Regions from separate parts of the Homo sapiens genome. Here region 2 is linked to region 1. Evidence: promoter capture Hi-C in human tissues and cell types (Jung and others, 2019). All regions are on one chromosome and are shown on one strand. Each heading gives the region's core, a stretch centred on a gene start or on the middle of the fragment in contact. The rest is flanking DNA. Distances are from core to core; before and after follow the strand shown.

Region 1 (5,315 bases), core at 357-2,856:
GTACCACAGCATCTGGACTAGGGCTGTAACTGAGAACCACCATTTTTCTAAGAGACAGCTTATTTATTTCTCTCTCTTTTCTCATTCCCTTAGTTCCCCACTTCCTATGTAGCCCTTTAAAAATGCAAATATAGACTTTTACCTCCCCTTCACCAGACACTTCCTACAGGGAAAGTTCATCTAACTGTGTGCTCCAAGCCAGAACTCTCCTCCAGAATTAACAGTCAATTTACAAACTAAAGCATGCTGGCCTCTGAACTCTCACTCACCAGGAGGTTGCCTGAAGAGACAACAGTTGAAAGCGTGCCTGCTACTCTCTCCCTTCTGGTTACAACTTATTTCTGCCCATGAAAAAGCCAGCTCAACTGCCTAATAGATAAGGCACCAAGCCAGCACACAGACCCCTTCCCTCTTCCTCCCCTACCTTTTAAAAGTGCCTGCTTTCTGCTCTAAAAGCCAAGCCGTGCACTTAAAGACAACACCTGTGCTACTTCCCCTACGCTAGCTCTAGAATAAATCACTTTCTTTATACCAGATCTCCCTCTTGTTAACTGGACGTTGCAAACGGGAAGCCACTGATCTACTTTTCAGTTACAGGGGCTGATGCTTTCCTGGCTTCTCATTGCCCCTCCCAACCCATTCTACCTGGCTCATTCTTTAAACCAGTGGTCCCCAACCGTTTTAGCACCATGGACCGGTTTTGTGGAAGACAATTTTTCCACGGACTGGGGAATGGTTTCGGGATGAAACTGTTCCACCTCAGCCATTAGATTCTCATAAGGAGCGCCTGACCTAGATCCTTCGCACGCACAGTTCACAATAGGATCCGCGCTCCTATGAGAATGTAATGCTGGGCTGATCTCACAGGAGGTGGAGCTCAGGCCATAATGCTCCCTCACCTGCCGCTCACTTCCTGCTGTGCCGCCCGGTTCCTAACAGTCAGTGGACCGGTACAGGTCTGTGGCCCTGGAGTTGGATATCCTTGCTTTAAACCCTGAGCCTCCTTTCAGCCATCTGACGGCTCAACAGTCACTCTATCTAGCTCCTTGAATATTGTATCTCCTCGCTTGTTCCCTGTCCAAGAACACTCCTGTCAATCATGGGAGACATTTAGACTTCATAAATTCTTTCTATTCAATATTTTCGCTCGAGGACTCTGGGAAGGACAACTGTCAGGGTAACAGTCTGCATTCCCCACCAGGAACCTGGGGCTATGAAATTCGTTCCCCGTGGGTGTTGCGGGAAGTGTAATCGAGGAGCACCATGTAGTCGCAACACTTGAGCCTAAAGGGTGAGGTGATGGACATTTTCCTTTTGCATCTGAGGCTCTGCAGTCCAGACACCTTGCGGGATTCCTGATACTTCAGCTCAGGTAGGCGTTTCCGGAGAATTCTGGGAAGAGTAGTCCATTTTACGGGAAGTGTAGTCCACTGGCTCGTGGAACACTGGGTATTTTGGCTCTGGCAGGTGAACCGTTGAATTCTGGGAACGATAGTCCAGACACTCTGCGGAGTCCCGGGCCCTTTGGCTCAGGGGGGCGGGTCCGGGGAATTCTGGGGAGTGGAGTCCAGACACTCTGGCGCAGAGAGGACACTTCCGGTCTCCTAGTCTGAGGTTCCTGCTTTAATGACCGGGGTAGTTTGAGCCATTTCTGCGTCTTGCAGGACATTTTGAACGAACCCCCTTTGCTTGAGGCTCGCAACCACCCGATGATCGATGATCGTCTCAGGGGAAAAGAAGCCTTGGCGAAGAGCAGAGGTTTAGAGGTGCGAGGGCGGGGAGGGTGTTTATTGTTCCCGTCAGCGGAGCCTTCTGGCGTCGGGGGGCTTTGCTCGCCTCCCGGGGGGTGGGATTGGGGTGGCCTTGTGTGCCCTGCTCTGAGGGTTTCCAGGACTTTGACCTCGCTCAGTCCGCCTCCCTACGTATGCAGTGTGTACACTCTTTCTCGCAGTGTGATGTGGAATGTTAATGTCTCTGTACTTCCCATTGCTGTTCTTTAAAATGGTGCTTATAGGGTCATCCTAATAGAATTGTTTTGCGAATTGAAAGAGATAATACAAATGAAAGCCTTAAAGTTGTCCCTGTCACTTGGTGAGTGGTCTCTTGTTGCCTGATATTTTAAAACGTTTGATATCATTTCAAAGCTATAGAAAAATTGCAAAAACAGTATAAGAAATTCTCATATACCCTTTACCCAAATTTGCCAAGTGTTTACATTTTTCCTGTTTGCTTTGTTGATGACCATCAACCAAATACCACCAGGAACATACCTGTAACCAGAGACAGCTGATTGGTAGCTTTCTGCAGCAAGGAAGCCCACATACCACGGTAATTGTGGGGTGTCTTGGTAAGAGGCATTTAGGAAGGGCTGGTTATAGGGTTTCACATAACATGGTAGATAATATTGGATATTATGTTAAATAATACTGTTACCGATTACATGTCAGATAGATGTGTTAAAAGAATACTAGTATTTGTAGTGTACTTACTAGATAGTGTTGGATAGCATATTACCTAGCATCATGTTATCTAATCTGCAGTTCCATATACGAATTTGTTAAATTTTTCATTTAAAGTCCTTATGACTGTCCTCTGCCCCACCCTTCACCTATTCAAAGTCCAGTTTATGCGTTGTCTTTAGCTGTCACATTTCCATAGTTGTTCATTTGGAGTTTGATATTGAAGGGGGCCTGCCTCTCCACACCTGTGGGTGTTTCTCACAAGGTGGAAATGAGAAACTGAGAAAAGAAATAAGACACAGACACAAAGTATAGAGGAAGAAAAGTGGGCCCAGGGGACCGGCGCTCAGCAAATGAGGACCTGTACCGGCACTGGTCTCTGAGTTCCCTCAGTATTTATTGATCACTATCTCTACTATCTTGGTGAGGGGGATGTGGAAGGACTATAGGGTAATGGTGGGGAGAGGGTCAGCCGGAAAACATGTGAGCAAAGGACTCTGTCATAAATAAGTTTAAGGAAAGGAGTTGTGCCTGGATGTGCACATAGGCCAGATTTATGTGTGACTTTACACAAACATCTCAGTGCAGTAAAGACCAGTATTGCCGCCAGTATGTCTCACCTCCAGCCATAAGGCGGTTTTCTCCTATCTCAGTAAATAGAATGTACGATTGGGTTTTATACCGAGACATTCCATTCCCAGGGATGAGCAGGAGACAGATGCCTTCCTCTTACCTCAACTGCAAAGAGGCCTTCCTCTTTCACTAATCCTCCTCAGCACAGACCCCTTATGGGTGTCGGGCTGGGGGACGGTCAGGTCTTTCCCTTCCCACGAGGCCATCTCTCAGGCTGTCTCAGTGGGTGGAAACCTTGGACAATGCCCAGGCTTTCTTGGGCAGAGGTCCCTGTGGCCTTCCGCAGTGTATGGTGTCCCTGGTTAATCGAGACTGGAGAATGGCAATGACTTTTACCAAGCATACTGCCTGCAAACACATTTTTACCAAAGCACATCCTGCACAGCCCTAAATCCATTAAACCTTGAGTCAATACAACACATGTTTCTGCGAGCACAGGGTTGGGGCTAGGGTTACAGATTAACAGCATCTCAAGGCAGAAGAATTTTTCTTAGTACAGATCAAAATGGAGTTTCTCATGTCTTCCTTTTTCTACGTAGACACAGTAACAGCCTGATCTCTTTTTCTTTCCCCTACAGATATATTTCACATTTAGGTTTAGATTATACATTGTTGGTGGGGATTCCACAGGAGTGTTAAGATGCCCTTTTCTTTTTTTTTTTTTTTGTTTGAGACAGTTTTGCTCTTGTCACCCAGGCTGGGGTACAATGGTGCAATAGGATGCCCTTTTCATTGTAACATAACAAGGTCCAAGTGATGTTCGTTTGTCCCTTCATTGGTGATCTCAGCTTTGTCACTGGCCAAGAAGATGTCTTTCAGATTTTTCCACTCTTATGTTACTTTTTTTTAAATTATGAAGTTTCTTATGGGAAAATACATTATTAGTGGGCATTTTCTTGTAAAAAAGAGCTTCCATTTCTCCTCTATTGGTTCATTGATTTGTTCAACTATAAATATTCTATCAATGTGGACTCAGAATCCAGTCTTATTGATTCTAATGATATGTGCATTAACAGTTTTTTTTTTAAACTCTAGGTTTATTTTAGTTATAGCATTCACCCATTTCAGGTATACAAGTCAGTTCAGTGGTCTTTAGGAACTTTGAAGTGGGGTAATCATCATCATAATTCAGCCGAGATCACTTTCATCCCCCAGTTGGACTCCTCATGCCCATTTACTTTGAACCTCATTCTCAACTCAAATTTAGAACAACTGCTAACCTACTTTCTATTCTATTCTACTTGTCTATTCCAGACATTTCATATAAATGGAATCGTAGGGTCTGTGGGTTTTTGTGACTTGCTTCTTTCATTTACTGTAATGTTTTCAAGGTTCACGGGTGTTGTTGCATGGGTCAGTATTTCATTCCTTTACATTTCCAAATAAGATTCCATTGTATGAATATGCCACAATTTTTCTGTCCCTTTACCTGTAGGAGAGCTTTTTGGTTGTGTGCAATTTGGGGTTAGTATGAATAATGCTGCTGTGAGCGTTCATGTGCTAATTGACAATATGAGTCCTTGTTGGTGGGTGACATCCCTGGCCACCCTTTCATGTCTCTTTTTCTGTCTTCATGGCACTTTCCAGGCACAATTCTGCTTTCCCTGGAACTGTGTCATTCAGGACTCTGCAAATTCCCTAAAGTAGGAGGAAAAATGACCATGTCCAAGGTAAGTAGGACTTGCCTCTCTTACTGTTAAAATTCCATCTCACTACTCAGATTGTTGTGTGTTTTTCTCTGCCCTGGGAAGACTCAAGGAGAACAGCAGGACTTTGAGGATCTCTTGTCACCTGGCTAATTTTTGTAGTATTAGTGGAGATGGGGTTTCATCATGTTGGCCAGGCTTGTATCGAACTTCTGACCTCAAGTGATCTGCCCGCCTCGGCCTCCCAAAGTGCTGGGATTATAGGCGTGAGCCACCGCACCCAGCCAGAAAGCCTTCATTTAAAATGGCTAGTAATACTGGGCTGGGTGCAGTGGCTCACACTGGTAATCCCAGCACTTTGGGAGGCTGAGGCAGGCGGATCACCTGAGGTCAGGAGTTCGAGACCAGTCTGACCAACATGGAGAAACCCCATCTCTACTAAAAATACAAAATTAACTGGGCATGGTGGTACATGCCTGTAATCCCAGCTACTCGGTAGGCTGAAGCACGAGAATCACTTCAAACCGGGAGGCGGAGGTTGCAGTGAGCTGAGATTGGGCCATTGCACTCCAGCCTG
Region 2 (5,657 bases), core at 2,917-5,416, 55 kb after region 1:
TAACAGTGTGTTAAATATATCCATATTCCAGCGTGTACCATTGGGTACATATTTACCTATTACTGTTTTTCCAAGATTCAACCTTGGAAGTTAACTTTCCATTTGACTGACTTAATTTAGGACTTGGTAATATCCTGACCAAAGTTGTCAACATTTTTATGATTGTGAGTCATAGTAAGAAACACATCTTTCACCATAACCAGGACAAACATTTTTCATGCATGTAGATGTCTATGGGTTACTTCAGTAGGCATTTCATGAAATGATACCTTTCTTGCTTGTCATGAAGATGTGATCATTTCTTTTCTAGTTCTTTTTTTCTAAATGCTCATTAGAAGGTTTTAAATTTATTTTATAGCTCACTTTTTGTCTATATTCTTCCATTTGGAAATAAGTATAAAGGAGTATTTATCTATATCATATATTTTCTGCCCTCTTTTTTCTTCTTTTTTTATTTTTTTGAGACAGGGTCTCACTCTGTCACCCATGCTGGAGAGCATTGGCATGATCTCAGCTCACAGCAACCTCTGCCTCCTGAGTTCACATGATTCTCATACCTCGGCCTCCCACGTAGCTGGGATTATAGGTGTGCACCACCACACCTGGCTAATTTTTGTATTTTTAGTAGAGACAGGGTTTCACCATGTTAATCAGGCTGGTCACCAACTCCTGGGCTCAAGCAATCTGCCCGCCTTGGCCTCTCAAAGTGCTGAGATTACAGACATGAGCCACTGTGCCTAGCCTCTGGTCTTTTTTATTTTAATGAGAGTCTAATATCCCCACATGGAACCAACCCAGGGCATGACCCCTCAGGCATTCTTTTTATCCCAAGTGTTCTCACCACCTTTCATTGTCTCATCAGGAGCATCACCCTTTCTTTACCCCTGTCAGGTCCAACCTTTCAGATTCCCATCAAAACTGGTTGTCTGTTTCTTACCTATCTCAGTTAACCAAATTATTGTTCACATCTACAGAAAAATAAAATTAAAGATACATGTTATGCCAAATTCTTGTGTAGGAATATTATGAATATGTAGATATAAACACTCCTAGGCCTTTGATATTATTGTGAAGAGTTTAACTGGCTGCACAGTTTAGAGCAAGAGTTTACAGAAGATCGCTCTCACTTCACACCAACTGCAAGTGTGGGGATTTCCCAAAACTACCTTCACATTCAGTAATTACCTAGAAAGATAAGCAGAACTCACTGAATGCTTTTATACTAAAAGTTACGGATATTTACAGGGTAGAGATGCACATTACATTTCACCAAGAGAAAAATAAGAAACAGTTCTGGGAAGTACCAAATGAGGATCTTGTATTGTATTCTCCCCATAGAGTAGGATGCGTTAAATTCCCAGAATTAAGGTGTGACGTAGAGGGTACAGCGAATCAGGGAAGCTCACCTGAGCCCTGTATTTTTTTTTTTTTTGAGACGGAGTCTCGCTCTGTCACCCAGGCTGGAGTGCAGTGGCGCAATCTCAGCTCACTGCAAGCTCCAACTCCTGGGTTCTTGCCATTCTCCTGCCTCAGCCTCCCGAGTAGCTGGGACTACAGGCGCCCGCCACCATGTCTGGCTAATTTTTTTGTATTTTTAGTAGAGATGGTGTTTCACCATGTTAGCCAGGATGGTCTCGATCTCCTGACCTCGTGATCTGCCCGCTTCGGCCTCCCGAAGTGCTGGGATTACAGGCGTGAGCCACCGCGCCCAGCCGAGCCCTGGTTTTACAAGTAATTTTTGAGGCTCCATTACATAGCCATTATTTGTTGATTGATTCCCATGTGGCTAGTCAGTCTCCTGGGCCACTGATTCCATGTAACCTAAAGCCTCACCTTAAATCACGTTGCTCTTTGTGACATAGGGGGCACCGACCCCCAAAGGCGTGGCCAGCTACAACCCTAAATCATATTGTTTCACTTTCCAGTGACCTAGTTTTACTCTCAAGCAAACAAAGACACTCTCCTCAGGCATAAACTCCTAGACATTACCTCTCAGATCCTGAGGAAAACATCTAGACCTCATTTTGAGTAAGGTTAATATCTTTACTTTGTAAGGATACACAATATAAACACAAATGTACCAAGTCTTGATTATATTACTTTTGTTTAAAATTGGTTTTGATTCATATTTTATTATATACACAATTTATTAGCTTCATAATTTACCATGCAAGATTTTAGACTGATTAGGAAATTCACTAGGAAGAGTAGCAGGTATAATGTTTGTATCATATTAATTTTATTATTGTCTTTTATTTTTATTAAAAATTTTATTTCAGTAGTCTTTTTTTATTAAAGTATATACTGGTTTTTGGTTACATGGTTGAATTGTCTAATGGTGAAGTCTGAGATTTTAGTGTACCCATCACCTGAGTAGTGTACATTGTACCCAACTTGTAGCTTTTTATCCCTTACCCTACCTTCCACCCTCCCCATTTTGAGTCTCCATAGTCCATTATATCACTCTGTATGCCTTTGCATACCCATAGCTTAACTCCCACTTATAAGTGAAAACACGGTATTTGGTTTTCCATTCCTGAGTTACTTCACTTAGAATAATAGCCTCCAGCTCCATCCAAGTTGCTGCAAAAGACATTATTTCATTTTTTTATGGCTGAATAGTATTCCCTGGTGAATATATACCATATTTTCTTTATCCACTCATTGGTTGATGGGCACTTAGGTTGGTTCCATATCTTTGAAATTGTGAATTGTGCTGTAATAAATATAGGCATGCAGGTGTCCTTTTGATGTAAGGACTTCTTTTCCTTTGGGTAGATAGTAGTGGGATTGCTGGATCAAATGGTAGATCCACTTTTAGTTCTTTAGAGAATCTCCATACTGTATTTCATAGAGGTTGTACTAATTTACATTCACACCAGCAGCAGTGTATAAGCGTTTCTTCTCACCACACCCATGTCAACATCTATTGTTTTTCGTCTTTTATTTCTATCAAGTATTTTACATATGATACTTGGTTTAGTTCGAAATTGGCCTCATCCAAACCAAAGATTATGGTGCACTTGAAAAATACAAACTGAATGTTGTCTATACTCATGAGAGTTTCCTGCCATGGCCTAAGTGAAATCTTGATAACACTGAACAAAGGCTTCACTTGTCCTCATCTTTTAATTCTGTATTCTGATAGGAGACAAGATCCAAACTGAGATGGAGACTGTTTCAGAAGCAGGAACACATCAAGAGTGGTCCTTCCAGCAAATCTGGGAAAAAATTGCAAGTGATTTAACCAGGTCTCAAGACTTGATGATAAATAGCTCTCAGTTCTCCAAAGAAGGTGATTTCCCCTGCCAGACTGAGGCAGGACTATCTGTAATTCACACAAGACAGAAATCTTCCCAGGGCAATGGATATAAACCATCCTTCAGTGATGTCTCCCACTTTGATTTTCATCAACAATTACACTCAGGAGAGAAATCTCATACGTGTGATGAGTGTGGAAAGAACTTTTGTTACATCTCAGCCCTTCGTATTCATCAGAGAGTCCACATGGGAGAGAAATGCTATAAGTGTGACGTGTGTGGTAAGGAATTCAGTCAGAGTTCACATCTGCAAACTCATCAGAGAGTCCACACTGGAGAGAAACCGTTCAAATGTGTGGAATGTGGGAAAGGCTTCAGTCGTAGATCAGCACTTAATGTTCATCATAAATTACACACAGGAGAGAAACCTTATAATTGTGAGGAATGCGGGAAGGCCTTCATTCACGATTCCCAGCTTCAAGAACATCAGAGAATCCATACGGGGGAGAAGCCATTCAAATGTGATATATGTGGTAAGAGCTTCTGTGGTAGATCAAGACTTAATAGGCATTCCATGGTTCACACGGCAGAGAAACCATTCCGATGTGATACGTGTGATAAGAGCTTTCGTCAGAGATCAGCACTTAATAGTCATCGCATGATCCACACAGGAGAGAAACCATACAAATGTGAGGAGTGTGGAAAAGGCTTTATTTGTAGGCGAGATCTTTATACGCATCATATGGTCCACACGGGAGAAAAGCCATATAATTGTAAAGAGTGTGGGAAGAGCTTCAGATGGGCCTCGTGTCTTTTGAAACATCAGCGAGTCCACAGTGGAGAAAAACCATTCAAATGTGAAGAATGTGGGAAAGGATTTTACACAAATTCACAATGCTATTCCCACCAGAGATCCCATAGTGGAGAAAAACCATACAAATGTGTGGAGTGTGGGAAGGGCTACAAAAGGAGGTTGGATCTTGACTTTCACCAGCGCGTCCATACAGGAGAGAAACTGTATAATTGTAAGGAATGTGGGAAGAGCTTTAGTCGGGCCCCATGTCTTTTGAAACATGAGAGACTCCACAGTGGAGAAAAACCATTCCAATGTGAAGAGTGTGGGAAGAGATTTACTCAAAATTCACATCTTCATTCCCATCAGAGAGTTCACACTGGAGAAAAGCCATACAAATGTGAGAAGTGTGGAAAGGGCTACAATAGTAAGTTTAATCTTGATATGCACCAGAAGGTCCACACAGGAGAGAGACCATACAATTGTAAGGAATGTGGGAAGAGTTTTGGCTGGGCCTCGTGTCTTTTGAAACATCAGAGACTGCACAGTGGAGAAAAACCATTCAAATGTGAAGAGTGTGGGAAAAGATTTACTCAGAATTCACAGCTTCATTCTCATCAAAGAGTGCACACTGGAGAAAAGCCATACAAATGTGATGAGTGTGGGAAGGGCTTCAGCTGGTCCTCAACTCGTCTGACCCATCAGAGACGCCACAGCAGAGAAACACCTCTCAAATGTGAGCAGCATGGGAAGAACATTGTACAGAATTCATTCTCTAAAGTGCAAGAAAAAGTTCACAGTGTAGAAAAGCCATACAAATGTGAGGACTGTGGGAAGGGCTACAACAGGCGCTTGAATCTTGATATGCATCAGAGGGTCCACATGGGAGAGAAAACATGGAAGTGTAGGGAGTGTGATATGTGCTTTAGTCAGGCCTCAAGCCTTCGACTTCATCAGAATGTTCATGTTGGAGAAAAACCTTAGTGATGTGATGGTGCAATAAAGTCTTCACTCAGTCTTCATGAATGCAGTCTCATCTGAAAGTTCACAAAGGAGAGACACATTAAAATATGAGGCACATAGTAAGCACTTCCCTTTGAGTATTTTATCTCTGAATCCATGCTGGTGATAAATTTCACCCATTCTTGGAAGAGGGAAAACATTTGTTTAAGATAACATCAGTGCTTCAGCCATAGCTCAGCATGCCCCAGTAGTCTCAGGACCACCATAATGGAGAATCCTTGTAAATGGTGCAATAAAGCTTCATTCAGAAGTTTGATAATTACAGCTATCATTCAGGAGACAGGCCTTAGAAAGAGTAAGAGTTCATGAATTTACCAGACTAATGGTGGACATGTCCAAATTGATGTCCACTAGAATGTAAACTACATGTGTCTTTGCTGCTAAGTCGTCACAGCCTTAACATTGATTAGCACTTTGTATGTGTTCAGTACTTGTTTGTTAAATCAATGAAAGGATAAAACATATGTATGGATTTGGATACAATTTTGTGTATCCAAAAAGGGAAGCCTGCAAAAAATAATTCTGGGAAACATGAGTTGAAATGCAGAGTAAACTCAGTACTGCAATCCATAGCAATATTT

What was found. The method cuts DNA at HindIII sites, captures the fragments that hold promoters and counts their contacts. A contact is called where the count stands out against the background at its distance.
Region 2: a fragment that was not itself captured here is called in contact with the fragment with the promoter of ZNF223 in region 1 in 1 of the 25 tissues and cell types used here (neural progenitor cells).

The regions. Positions count from the first base shown.
Region 1 is chr19:44,050,430-44,055,744 of GRCh38, forward strand. ZNF223 (zinc finger protein 223) reads left to right here and starts at 1,607. Exons shown (of 5, transcript NM_013361.6): 1 at 1,607-1,766; 2 at 4,680-4,762. The coding sequence starts at 4,748. RefSeq lists enhancers at 1,273-1,774, 1,594-1,833 and a silencer at 1,494-1,553. The HindIII fragment of the contact is 19,838 bases long and covers 1-5,315 here.
Region 2 is chr19:44,103,248-44,108,904 of GRCh38, forward strand. It overlaps ZNF224 (zinc finger protein 224), which reads left to right. Exons shown (of 6, transcript NM_001321645.3): 6 at 3,149-5,657. The coding sequence ends at 5,037. ZNF225-AS1 (ZNF225 and ZNF224 antisense RNA 1) reads right to left here. Exons shown (of 2, transcript NR_033341.1): 2 at 2,092-5,090. Among named protein-coding and RNA genes, the nearest start is that of ZNF225-AS1, 7.1 kb to the right of the region's middle. The HindIII fragment of the contact is 4,133 bases long and covers 2,101-5,657 here.